Linked DNA regions of Homo sapiens: all the other regions are linked to region 3. The links are contacts of gene promoters, found by promoter capture Hi-C in human tissues and cell types (Jung and others, 2019). All regions are on one chromosome and are shown on one strand. The core of a region is centred on a gene start or on the middle of the fragment in contact, and the rest is flanking DNA. Distances in the headings are between cores, read along the strand shown.

Region 1 (4,349 bases), core at 204-2,703, 1.2 Mb after region 3:
TGCTTGAATTCTTTTGATTCACTCGTATAATAAATATTGGTTGAGTTTTTACAATGAGTTTGGCTCTCTAGGAGGTTTAGGTGACAACTCAGTTCCTGCCCTCAGAAGTTTAATTTGGTGGATGAATAAGACTAGAAAAATGAGTGACAATTCTGAGGCTATTCAGGGTCAAGTGAGCAGCATTAACAAGGCATAGGGGCTAGGAAGGCTCCCTGGAGGAGGTGGCATTTAAGGTGCAACCTGACTATGCACAAAGCAAAGTGTACTCTAGGAAGAAATTGATGTGCAGAGTCCTGGAGGCTAGGAAGAGAGAGGAATTAAGTACATACAGGCCTGGACTAGAGAAGGAAACTGATTGCATTTACCAAAAGGTCCTTTCCTCTACGATCCTTCTGTGTGTTGCCTGCTTGAAAAACCCAACCATTCCCAGCCACCATTAATAGGGAGAGCTGGGACACTTTGCTAGCGCTTAAACTGTCCCTGACACTTCCAAATGCTGGGGGCTCCTTCTGCTTTAATCCATGGAATTAGCTTCTGGCCTCACTGGCACCGTCCCCTGAATTGCTGGAGGGCAGAGGTCAAGGCATTAAGCAGGGTAGATTAATACCCGGCCATAAATCCCAGAAGCTGCATTTAAGCGGCAGTCATATTTCACACGGGATCACCCCAGCCATTGATCGGCCCATCTTTTGGAGTGTGTGTGTGTGTGTGTGTGTGTGTGTGTGTGTGTGTGTGTCCCCCGGGCCATGTTTACGAGCCTTGCTGAGCCCTCCTGGGCAGCGCCCCCCACATGTCGCCCTTTGATCAGGGAAATCCAATACCTGAGGTCTGGGCTTTATGGGCACGTAAGTCTAGATTAAGAGAATTAACCACAGTGGATCACAACTAATAAAATGGTGCCTGGGCCCCACCACAGCGTGGCCCTGGTGGACAGGTAGAGGGCGGAAGGGATGGGGGAGAATGGCTACCCAGCATCCCGCCCAGGGCCACCACTCCCCTGTCCAGCCCACAGCTGCGCTTGGCAAGGGTGTGTGTGTGTGTGTGTGTGTGTGTGTGTGTGTGTGTGTGTGAATGCGTGCTTTAATCTAAATTCTCTTGTACATTTCTTTTTCCTGTTCTACATTCTTTCTTTTATGTGACAACACAGATTCAACATTTCCTCAAAAAAGAGGGACTCCTAGGCAACCTGTTTGTTTCTTTCTGCATTCAGTCATTCATTCATCAAATATTTACAATGAACAGATGAAGTAGACAGTGTTGTGAGTTAAATATTATCCCCTGAAAAGATATGTTCAAGTCCTAACCCTCAGCACTTATGAATGTGAAATTATTTGGAAATAGTGTCTTTGCAGATATAATCCAGTTAATATAAAGTCATATTGGATTAGGGTGGGCTCTAAGTCCAATGATTGTTGTCCTTAAAAGAAGACAGAGAAAGGCACACAGGGCAGGGACCATGGGAAAACAGAGGCAGAGAGTGGAGTGATGCTGTTGCAAGCAAAAAAAAAAAAAAAAAAAAAACACAAACACCAAGAACTTCCCAAGAAGCTGAGGATGAGGACGAGGCATGGAACAAATTTTCCCTCTGAGCTCCACAAAACAAACTAATGCTGTTGACATCTTGGTTTTGGACTTCTGGCTTCCTGAACTGTAAGAGAATAAATTTATGTGGTTTTAAGCTACCCAGTTTTTGATATTTAATTACTGCAGCTCTGGGAAACTAATACAGGCACTGCAGATGCAACCGAGAGCAAATCAGACTCTGCTTCAACCTTCAGGAGACTCCAGTCTTCCTGGAAGACAGACAGGGATGAGGCAGGTATAATTCAAAGTGATGAGTTCTGGAAAAGACAGAGCTCAGGGCCATCTGGAGGGCACAGGAGGACGACCTAGCATGGAGGTATCATGGAAGGCTTCCAGGAGGAAGTGAGATTTATGCTGAAGCCTAAAGATGATTGGAGTTGGCTAGGCAAAGGATGGGAGGGAACAGTGCTCAAGGCAGAGGGACTAGCCAAGGAGAGGGTTAAGAGGAGAGAGAGAAAATGCAGCCTTTGAGGAGATTAGAGAAACTCTAGCTGCTAGGAGTGGAAAAGAGGGATGAAGCTAAGAGAGATTTTCCAACTAGTCCATTTGAGCTGCTATAACAAAATACCTCAGACTGAGTAGCTTATAAAGAAAAAGAATTTATTTATTTTTGAGACTGAGTCTCACTCTGTTGCCCAGGCTGGAGTGCAGTGGCATGATCTCAGCTCACTGCAACCTCTGCCTCCCAGGTTCAGGCAATTCTCCTGCCTCAGCCTCCCAAGTAGCTGGGACCACAGGCATGAGCCATAACGCCTGGCTAATTTTTGTATTTTTAGTAGAGACGGGGTTTTACCATGTTGGCCAGGCTGGTCTCGAACTCTTGACCTCAGCTGATCCACCCACCTTGGCCTCCCAAAGTGCAAGGATTACAGGCATGAGCCGCCATACCTGGCTAAAAGAATTTACTTCTCACAGTTCTGGAGTCTGGGAAGTCCAAGATGAGGGCAGATTTGGTGTCTGGTGAGGACCGCTTTCTGGCTTGTGGATGGCGCCTTCTCACTGTGTCCTCACGTGGTGGAAGGAACAAGGCACCTCCTGGGAATCCATTTTTCATAGGCACTTATCCCTTTCAAGAAGGCTCTACCTCCATGACTGAATCACCTCCCAAAAGCTTCACCTCCTAATACCATCACCTTGAGGGTAAGGATTTCAACATAGAAATTAGGGATGGGGCGCAAACATTCAGAGCATAGCAGTGAGGGTGGGTGGGTGCCCAGCTGGGGAGGACCCTGTAAGGAGTCCTCAGGGCTAAGGAGCTTGGGTTTATCCTACGAGTAGAGAGAAGCCACCAAGGAGGTGAGCGATGTAGCCGGGGCTGTGGTTAGAGGTTATTCTGACAGTGGTATTGTGTTAATTGCAACACTGCTAAGTGAGGCTGGGGTGCCTGAGGGTGAAGTAAACACCATGTAGGATTCTGCCTATTAAGGGCTCAGGGCTTCAAAGCCCCATTCCTATCATCCTTCACTCCTAAAATGTGGAAAGTTCTGTAAAAGGACTTCCTGTGCTCCCAAGCTGTGCATATGGCCTATGAGTTATCTCCCAGGCAGCACAGCCACCCAGGCGGAATGATGTCATCTCCACCACCGAGCCCGCGTGCCCGGCGCTGAGTTGGTGTTCAGCAAACACTCCTTGAGTAAATACTCTGTATGTGAGTCCGATGGGAGCATCTTTAGTTAGGACTTACTGGGACGTGATCCGGTTTGGTGATCTGCCCTCAAGCTGGACCAAGGGTGTCTGCAGCTCCACTAAGGCTATTGCCGAGTGTTTGCCAAATTTGCCTGCCTGGTACAAGTGCTGGACCTGCATCAAAGTTCAGTCGCTGCTTCTTAGAACATATTGTAGTCTTGCACACTGGTTTTTTTTTTTTTTTTTTTTTAAGACGGAGTCTCACCCTGTCACCCAGACTGGAGTGTGGTGGCATGATCTCGGCTCACTGCAACCTCCACCTCCCAGGGTTCAAATGATTCTCCTGCCTCAGCCTCCCGCGTAGCTGGGATTACAGGCACCTGCCATCATACCCATACTGAATATGTATGAATCAATGGCTGGGATTTGGTAATCATACCCAGCTAATTTTTATATTTTTAGTAGAGATGGGGTTTCACCATGTTGGCCAGGCTGGTCTCAAACTCCTGACCTCATGATCCACCTGCCTCAGCCTCCCAAAGTGCTGGGATTACAGACGTGAGCCACCACAACTGGCCTGCACACTCTTTAATGAGCTTGAAGACAAGTTCAAAATGGCATTCTGTCTGTAATAGCAGAGCTGAGACTGGTATGGAGTAATGCAAAGTAAAGTCATGGCCGGAATAGGGCAAGGGCACAAGAGCAAGCATTTATTGAGCACCTACTGTATGCACAGTATATCAAAGTGCTTTGCAGATGCCTTCCTTGTCTAATCCACCCAACAGGCCTGCAATGCAGGTGTTCTCATCATGCCCAATTTACAGAAAAGCAGGGTGGCTGCAAGGAGGCGACATGCTGAAGGTCCCACAGCTTGTGAGCAGTAGAGCTGTGCTGAAAGTTCAGGCTCTTCTTTCTCCCTTCTGAGTTTCAAACCCGAGGGCAGGCAAGGGAGGATCAAGGAGAAGAGATAAATCAGGCAGAGGTTTGGCCTCCATTTACTTTGGGAGGCTAGTGGAGGGAAGGGCGCCTTCACTCCCACATATCACTGGGACATGAGCACCATCCCGCTGTCTACCCTGGCAGGGGTACAGGCTCCACACTCAGTGGGAAAACAAATCCCAGCCATTGATTCATACATA
Region 2 (4,368 bases), core at 1,212-3,711, 1.3 Mb after region 3:
CCAAAGACACACAAGCGCACCAGCCTGACCAGGACAATGTGACACCAGTATGTGCACAGCACAAAAGTTCCTGAGCTGCCAGTAGTGCAAGATCTGCTCACAGAGAAGCCATGTTTTCATTTGCAGCATTCCCCTTAATAAGAGACTCCTGGAAGAGGCTATGTTTTGCTGCAACTGACACTTTTCTTATCTTTTAATTCTTTTAGCTAGCTTCATCAATTGAAAATGTACCTTTCATGCAAGCAATAAGTAATGCATTTGTTTTTAAAAGTCTCTGTTTATGCTGGGTGCGGTGGCTCACACCTGTAATCCCAGCACTTTGTGAGGCTGAGGCGGACAGATCACTTGAGGTCAGAATTTCGAGACCTGCCTGGCGAACATGGTGAAACCCCACTCTACTAAAAATACAAAAATTAGCCAGGCACAGTAGTGCACGCCTGTAATCCCAGCTACTCAGGAGGCTGAGGCAGGAGAATCCCTTGAACCCAGGAGGCAAAGGTTGCAGTGAGCCAAGATCATGCCACTGCACTCTAGCTTGAGCAACAGAGTGAGACTCTGTCTCAAAAAAAAAAAAAAAAAAAAAAAAAACCTTCTGTTTGGAAGGAAAAAATAATCTGCAGCTACTACATCAAACTGTATCAATTCTGAGTTGGTTAAAAAAATAAAAAATTTACTGCCACTTTGAACGCATTCTCTTCCCTGCTGTAATGTCTTAACTGGATATCAAAGAATGTTTAATGGTTCAGAAAAAGGAAATGCTGAAAGCCTCTTGGAGGTCACCTGGCTGCAGGTGCTCAGGATTGAAAAAGGCCACCTGGCTAGCTTCAGAACAGCACTGTCTAAATCATGGCATTGAATTAAAGACTTTAGTGCTTAAGGCTCCAAAAAAAGGGAGAAATACAGCATACCTCTGTTTCTTACACAACTAACATTACAACTTCAATAACCAATTCTTTGTTAATGCATAAACTGAATTACAAAAACAGGTACTGGGAGGTAGTTGCTATTATTCCATTTCACAGATAAGGTAACTCAGGCTAAGAGAGGTGAAGTTAGCTTGTCCAAGGTCACAAAGCCCGTAGGCCCAGAGCTGCAATTCAAAGTTGTCTTTAACAGACTGTGGGGCATGCATTCTTAGCTGCTATGCTACTTGCCTCCAGAATTCAAATTAAACCCAACTTTAAAAAAATAGACAATGTAACATTTGTGTTTTTCGTTCCTATCACAACCGTTTCCCATGAACAAATTATCATTAACTGGTAAGTACTGCAAAGGAAACAAAGACCCTTAAAACCCCTTCCTTCCAGAAGAGGGTAATAGGGGCAGGTATAACATGGGAACAGTCTGAGATGCCCTCCTCTGGTCTTACCTGCTCTGTGACTAATCTAAGCTATAAACCTTTTTTCTCTCCAGCGTCTAATAAATTCAGTGCTGGGAATAAAAGTCCCCCCCCCCCCCCGATGAAAACTGAAGTCCTTTATGTCCATCTTTGTGTCTAAATAAATGAGTGTGAGCAGGCTGCTTATGCTTGTTCAGTCTAAGATACCAGACATAGCTATTTTTCAAAGTCTTAACTCCCCAGTCTCATAACATTTTAAATAAACAGTACAATACAGTGATGCAGCAGGAATCATCTAACTGAAGCAAAGTTACCACAAGCTGTGGCAGAACCCTCTAACTCTTAAATCTTCTGTTGTTCATCCACCTCCAATATCCCTGAGATATTTAAAGATGAAACCAGTTGTAAGCTCTGGTTTTTTCCTTAATACTCTGGCGTTAACCTGGACACATCTGTAAAATCAATCTCCTGGCGGCTCTTGCCATTCCTGCAGGTCGGCTAGAAAGAAGAAGGCTGCAAAATGACTAAGCCAGGACACGCAAAGAGCACGGCAGGCTCCTTTCAGAACAAGCCATCACCAACGTGTTCTTCAATCAGCACAATTACTCTGCATGTTGAGTAAGTACGGTTGTTGTACTAATCTCTTAAAAGCCACTATTTTGGCAAAAAATAAAACCATTAAAAAACTGGGAAGCAGCAAGCAACTAGAACTAATTTTTGCTAAGAAAACAATGCATTAAAAACCCTTGCATCTGTAATAGGACTATTCTTCTGATAAAACTTATTCATCAGAAATAATAACATATTTATTTCAAATTCCTGCCTTCTATTCAAAATGGAACCATAGTCAGTTTCCCACACTTATTTCTCTTGTACCAAGGACCCAGACCATCAAGAACTGTGCAAGTAGGAACAAGATGATCAGATGTCCAGTGGATTATCTTCCTAAAGGCTATGGTTGTCTTAAACAACGTACTCCAAATCATCCTTACCCGACTATGCTGGAAGTGAGAGCCCACACCAATTCCAGAAGGAGAGCCTGGGGAGGGTACTGGGGAAGAGTTGGGAGAGGAATGGAGGTTCCCAGTCATTAATATGCCAATATCATTGTCCATATCATCTGGGAATGGAAGGTCAACAAACATATCATCTAGAGGGAAGGGGGGAAAAAAAGCACAAAAATTAAAAAGATAGTCCACATATCAATATCATAATAATCCAACCTAACCTATGTCATGTTTTGTTGGCATATGGCTATTATGGACACACACTGTTAATAACTTAGATTCAGTTAGGACCTACTGAGTGCAAGCTATTACAAATTATTCTTTCATTTTGTACTCTCTCCAATGATCTCCTTATGTACAGTATTAACAGAATGCAATAAAGAATATAACATAAAAACCTACACTCTGCATAGCCTCCAAAGACACATAAAAGTATGGTAAAAGAGCTAAAGCAACAATTTAATCATTAAAATTGACACCATTCAAAAACACAGTAGACTCCATCTATGTATCCACTTAGCATCTAAAACACCAGAGGCTGAATGAATGCATGTTAATGAGTGTGAACTTGCCCTGAAAATGGAGACCTATTCCAAAAGCAAATCAAAGCACAATGTTTTCTCTCTTTTTTTTTTTTTGAGATGGAGTCTCCCTCTGTTGCCCAGGCTGGAGTGCAGTGGCACGATCTCGGCTCACTGCAACCTCTGCCTCCTGGGTTCAAGTGATTTCTGGCTAATTTTTGTATTTTTCATAGAGATGGGGTTTCACCACGTTGGCCAGGCTAGTCTCAAATTCCTGACCTCAAGGGATCCGCCTGCCTCAGCCTCCCAAAGTGCTAGGATTACAGGCATAAGCCACCGTGCCTGGCCCAGCATTTTCATTAAGAAATCCTCCCCAACATTATAAAAGTAAGGTACACTCACAGCAGAAAATTTGTAAAGAAAAGTATAAAAAGTGAAAACCATCACCTAGAACCCAATCACCATGATCATTTTTTTCTATGATTCTTTTATTTTCTCATATATTTGTTATTCTATTGTAATCATACCAGATATAAAATTTGGTATCCTTTTCCTCATCCCATTTACCATAAATAAACACTGGTAGGTGTTATAATTTCTTCAAAAACAATGCAAATGGATGCTGTGTTGAGTGTTTTATAGTTTATAAATAATCATTTTTTTAAACAAATACCTTAACAGCTATTCAAAAATTTCCATTAAGAATAATCAAATAAGGGTTTCTCTATAGCAAATTAGATTGCCATAGACTAGCTAAAGGAAGGTGCTCTCTTCATATTGCTTAGTACTTCACACATTTCAAATCACATCAGCAAATATTTATTGAAAGAGTGGCACCTAAGTACAGAACAGTGCCACGCAGGTATTATTTTTTGCCTTTAATGAAAAATGGAAGAAAGTTAATTGCCCAAACAAGGAAAATATTTATTTGGTCTTGTTAATTGTGCAGATAAATCAAAGCTTTAAGACCAAATAGATTCTCAAACCTTCTATCCCCTCTTTATAGTTCCTGGGTTGTTTATTACAACACAGAAAAGCCATGCGGCAGCCCAGTGATTCCATACTCCGGCTCTGCCCTGCATGAAGGTGAGCACTATCCATACAGGTCTTCTACTCACCATTGTTGGGGCTAAACCCATCTTCATTGGGGTAGTTGGCTGGAGCCACCTGGATGGTTGATGATGTTGGGAACACCAAGATGTGTGTACAAGAAGCATCTTGAGGGGTGTTGAGCTGAGATGACTGCATGTTCAGTGCAGTACTTCGGCCAAAAACAGAGCCCATTGTGACAGCATCTTTAAAGAAAAAAATAGAATTATATCAATCAATGAACAACCCCAGAAATGAGGTTTTCAGAGGGCCTGATCTGGAGTGGTATGAGTCTGATGAAAATGCCATGATAAATACACATTCAAAATTGAGTCCAATTGTTTAAATATCTTCAAAGAAACTGACTCAGAGCACATAGCTGTCTATAATAACCCAAGTTTCATTTCATACT
Region 3 (4,311 bases), core at 1,584-4,083:
TTTCGCCATATTTAGACGTCCCAAGGTTCAAAACAAATGCATTGTGGCACTGCAATTCTCTACATTGTCTAACAATTTCTTCAATATTTTTTTTGTCCTTGCTTGACTTTACAGATTGCCCTCCTGAGAGCAAATTCTTGCCCATGTCTTTTTCTGTGGGTATCTAGATCTAAACAGGTTGGGGTAAGATTTTTGTAAAGCGCGGTCAGTTAAGACTAGAATTTTCCACCACCCATTGATGAGAAAATGTTAAACTTATCAAGGAAATGAACGTCAAGTTGCACCCCTCCCTGCTGCAGAATAGCAATCCCGCTGTGGGCGAAGTGAAACTGGACTTCAGTGAGTTCCCAGAACGAATTTTGCAGACTTCGGTGCACTCCTGGGCCTGATAACCGATCTGCCCGTGGAGCTGCTAACACATTCCCCCACTTCTTAGGCCAGTCCAAAACCGCAAGACTGTGCCACCACATTGCTGTTAATTTCACAGAAGGGTTGGCATTCTGTAGTCTTGACTTAAAAGGAAGCAAGGAAGCACTTTGCTGGAAAACTGACTAAATGTCTTGTGAGTTTGAGGAGGATTTTATGCCAAACTTTGGCCTCATTTAGCTTGGAAGGAGACAGAACGCTTAAGATATCATGAAGGGGATTTTATTTTTGTATCAACTTTATGCCTTTACAGGCTTCAATGCTATTACAAAAAAAAAATCAGTGATTTTAAATGACTATTACAGGATCTTCTCTTCCAGGCAGGTTTTGGTCAGGCAAGGACCTTTAAACATTATGTAAAATATGGTTGATAATATTCACACATTAAAAAAAAGGTGTGTGTCTCCTCACTGGCTCCTTAAGTCTGCAAACATAATCTTAAATTATGCAAAATTGCCTGCTGAACTCGCCCTTGGGTTACAGACACGTGAAGTAGTGTGGGCAAACAAACCAAAATGCCCTTCGATTTCTCTCTGACCAGGGCAGCAGCAGGCCCCTTTAGACCCAGAGGCTAGACTGGAGGGCAGAAAGGGCCGGGGAATGGTGTCAGGCCTCCCAATACCCACACAAAAGGAAAGGGCTTTAAGTTTTTCTCTCTGAGAACAAAATAAAACAGACAACACAACATCAACAAAGAAATAAGGATGTTCCAGGAGGGTTTGAAGAGTGAGTTTCTTGCAGTAGAGTGCCTTTTTTTTTTTTCTTTCCTGCTCCCTGCAGGGATGTCTGTGCTCCACTGAAAAATTCTGTCTGTTCGGGAGGGAACCCAGGATGCAGACCAAATGCAAGACCCATGCAGATGCCCAGGTAAGCTGAAATTTCCTGCCACCGGGGCAGGGCCTGGAAGTCTGTGCATACATTTCTAGGGGAACTAACTTTTCGTCCAAGCCGTAATAACCGACCAACCGACTGTTCTGGGAGCAGAGAAATAAAGGGAGGAAAAAACTCTCCAACAGCTTAGGGGAGGAGGCCCCCACTGCTTACCTTCCCGACTTGGTAATGACCATCTCGGTGCCCCGCTTGTGAAACTGATCCCAAAGTTCTTTAGCCTCCAGGTGCACCTTGGGGTCGTCCTCCACCTCTTCTTCGGGCTCCATGGTCTTCAAAGGCCTCAGATGCGCCTGGGGCCCCAGGGAGGAGAACGGGATGCCGGTCTCGGCCGCCCCCACCAATTGATCCATGATCGGCTTGGCCAGGGCGCCCGGCAGCGAGAGCGCCGCCGCGCCGTTGGGAGGCAGCGTCAGCGCGGGGAAGAACGGCGGCTGGTGACCCAGCACCGCGCTCATGGCGAAGTCCGGCGCCCGGTGAGGTAGGAACGGATGGTAGGCCATGCTTGTCCCAGGAATGACCGGATCTCTCATGGAGAGGCTCATCCACTCCAGGCGGGGCGCTGGGCTCCAGCCGGGGACAAGTCCGCAGCTGCTGTGTTTTGTTGTTTTTTTGTTGTTGTTTAACAGCAGCACATAATTCAAAAGGGGGGAAAAAGCAAAACAAAAAAGAAAGAAAAAAGAAAAGGAGGCAGAAATCACAACTAATGCACTTCAAAGGGAGGAGGGGAAGTGTCTTTTGGAGAATGGGAGGCCGCTTTTAAAGAGGGCAAGGCGAAAAATCAGCAAACATAGTCGCGCGGGTGACCGTCCTTGTGCCTTGCGTTTTTAAAAAGCCGCTCCTGAACGTCGGTTTCAGAAGCGAGAGGAGCGAGCAGGGTCTCGACTCGCGCCCGAGCCCTGCCGCTGAGCTCGAAATAGACACTCCAGCCCTGCGTCCCAGGAATCTCTCTCCAGCCCCTAGGTCTTTTGTTGCAAATGTGAAAGGTTCTCCTAGAAGACTTTTTACCTTTCTTTTTCTTCTTCCCCCGCCCCCTATCTGTCTTCCTCTCCCTCTTTCTCGCTGGTGGCGTCTGCAGCTGTGCTAGACCCGGCTTTAACAGGGAGCGAGAGAGCGGAAAAAGTCTCTCTCCTTTAAAAAAAAAAAAATCTGATTTAAACCCCCTTCTACCAGCGCTATCAAAACTTGAATTGCAAACTGGCTTCCGTTCGCCGCCCTCCTCCTCCTTCCTCTGCTCCGAGCCTCCGGAGGGTGTCTCGGTTTCAATCCAAATCTTGCTGGGCTCTTCTCCCGTGCCTCTCTCTCTTCCTTGTCCTAAAACGTGAGCGAATTCGCTTCCTAAATCTGTGTCCAGGCGCGCAGGGCAGGGAGGATTTAGAGGGGGAAAAAATGGAACAGAGGGAAAGAGAGGGAGGGGAGAGAGAGAGAGAGAGAGAGAGACGGAGTCGGAGAGGGAGGGAGCGAGAGAAAGCGAGAGCTCCTCGCCACCCTCCGCCGCCTCTAGAATTCACCGGGCGTCTGCTCGGCGGCTCTAGAAGGTCGGGCTGCGCTGTGGGCTGCGGGGAGCCGGAGGCCTCTTGATTGGCTCTTTGACGCTTTCGGACCAATTGTGTTGCTGCATAGGCGTGGTTTTCACAGGTCGAGTGCTGGGGGATAGAGCTGAGTTATAAAAAGAAGGTGTCGGAAACTGTAACGTCGCAGCGCCGCATCGGTACTACTGCCTGTCCTGTGAATATGTCAACATGATCAGAGGGCGGGCGGGAGCCACTGGGGAGCGCGCGCGCACAGAGTCGCCTCTAGGTGGCTTATCGAGAGATCGCTGCAGCCCCTGAGCTCGCTCGCTCGCTCTGGTTCAGCCCACGTCTGAAATGCCTCAGTCATCCAGCCGGGGATCGAGGGAGGAGGCAGGGCCAAGGAGGAAGGGGGAGGGAGAGAGGGAGGGAGCCAGCGAGCAGGCGAGCCGGGCGGGGAAGGCGGAGAGCGCGCCCGGGCGCCGGGCAGGGGCGCTCGCCTCTCTTGCACTCCGCTCGCCTCTCCGACCGCCGCGGCCGGTTCTCTCTCCAGCTCTCCTTCTTCTCCCCGCCCCGGGCGAGCCGGGCGGGTGGCCGAGCCTCCCCGCGAGCTGCCATCCGGCCACTCGGTTCTACAAAAGCCGGCGGCAGCCGAGAAGCGAGCGCCGAGACTCCAGGCTTGCGTGCTCTCCAGCCCCACGTGGAGCCAAGCTCCGCCCGGCCGCCGCTGAAGGGCTCCCGAGCTCGGGTGTCTCGGTGCTGGTCTCCCCTGCGTCTGGGCTGGGGGAGCACAAGGATGCGGCCATATCTCAGCACACGCATGTGTGGGCTTCCTCTCCACTGCGCCCCACCCGCAGCCATGTGCGGGTACCCAAACACCCCCGGTGTATCTGTACTCGAACACGCGCCAACACACTGGGACTGAAACACACACCGAAAAACACGTACACACAAACACGTACACAGCCTGCGCGGCTGGCCCTGCCTGAGCTCCTGGGGAAGATGGATTTGGGATTTTTATGAAATGCATTTACCAGCCCTTTTGGATCTCGTCTTTCATTTGCATGCGGGCCCCCATATTCCACCTGGATGTGGGTGTGGGTGTAGAGAAGAGAATGGAGGATCTGGACAAAGCGAGCACAGCGAGAGACTGGGTTCTGAGCCTGTCCCCTCCAAGCCGCTGCCCTCACCTCGAGGCCCGGCTGGGTGCACAGCACAGGGTAAGGGGTGGGCGATTGGGTTGGGGGAGGCGCGCCAGCCTGGTATCTTCTCTAGGCATCGCACTTATCTCTCGGTGCCTCAGTTCTTTCTCCACCCCGGGGACTTAATCTGGCCAGAAGTCGGGGAGGGAGGGTGAATTTGTAAAACAAACCGTGAAACGCCCCCACCTCAGAGGCGAGTTGACTGTTTTTAGTACGGGTAGGGTGGGGGCCTCCTCTTAGGCGGACGGGAGGGAAACGACCGGATCTTACCAATCGCCGAATTA

What was found. Contacts are between HindIII fragments. The study calls those that stand out against the background at their distance.
Region 1: a contact is called between a fragment that was not itself captured here and the fragment with the promoter of TBX3 in region 3, in 1 of the 25 tissues and cell types used here (lymphoblastoid cells).
Region 2: a contact is called between a fragment that was not itself captured here and the fragment with the promoter of TBX3 in region 3, in 1 of the 25 tissues and cell types used here (small bowel).

Annotation. Positions count from the first base shown.
Region 1 is chr12:115,837,206-115,841,554 of GRCh38, forward strand. All of the region lies in intron 2 of LINC02463 (long intergenic non-protein coding RNA 2463), which reads right to left. Among named protein-coding and RNA genes, the nearest start is that of LINC02463, 47 kb to the right of the region's middle. The HindIII fragment of the contact is 8,902 bases long and covers 1-4,349 here.
Region 2 is chr12:115,966,609-115,970,976 of GRCh38, forward strand. It overlaps MED13L (mediator complex subunit 13L), which reads right to left. Exons shown (of 31, transcript NM_015335.5): 27 at 3,986-4,162; 28 at 2,332-2,489. Among named protein-coding and RNA genes, the nearest start is that of LINC02463, 83 kb to the left of the region's middle. The HindIII fragment of the contact is 6,936 bases long and covers 1-4,368 here.
Region 3 is chr12:114,681,342-114,685,652 of GRCh38, forward strand. TBX3 (T-box transcription factor 3) reads right to left here and starts at 2,834. Exons shown (of 7, transcript NM_005996.4): 1 at 1,471-2,834. The coding sequence starts at 1,859. TBX3-AS1 (TBX3 antisense RNA 1) reads left to right here and starts at 951. Exons shown (of 2, transcript NR_187552.1): 1 at 951-1,293. RefSeq lists a promoter at 2,836-3,345. The HindIII fragment of the contact is 7,860 bases long and covers 1-4,311 here.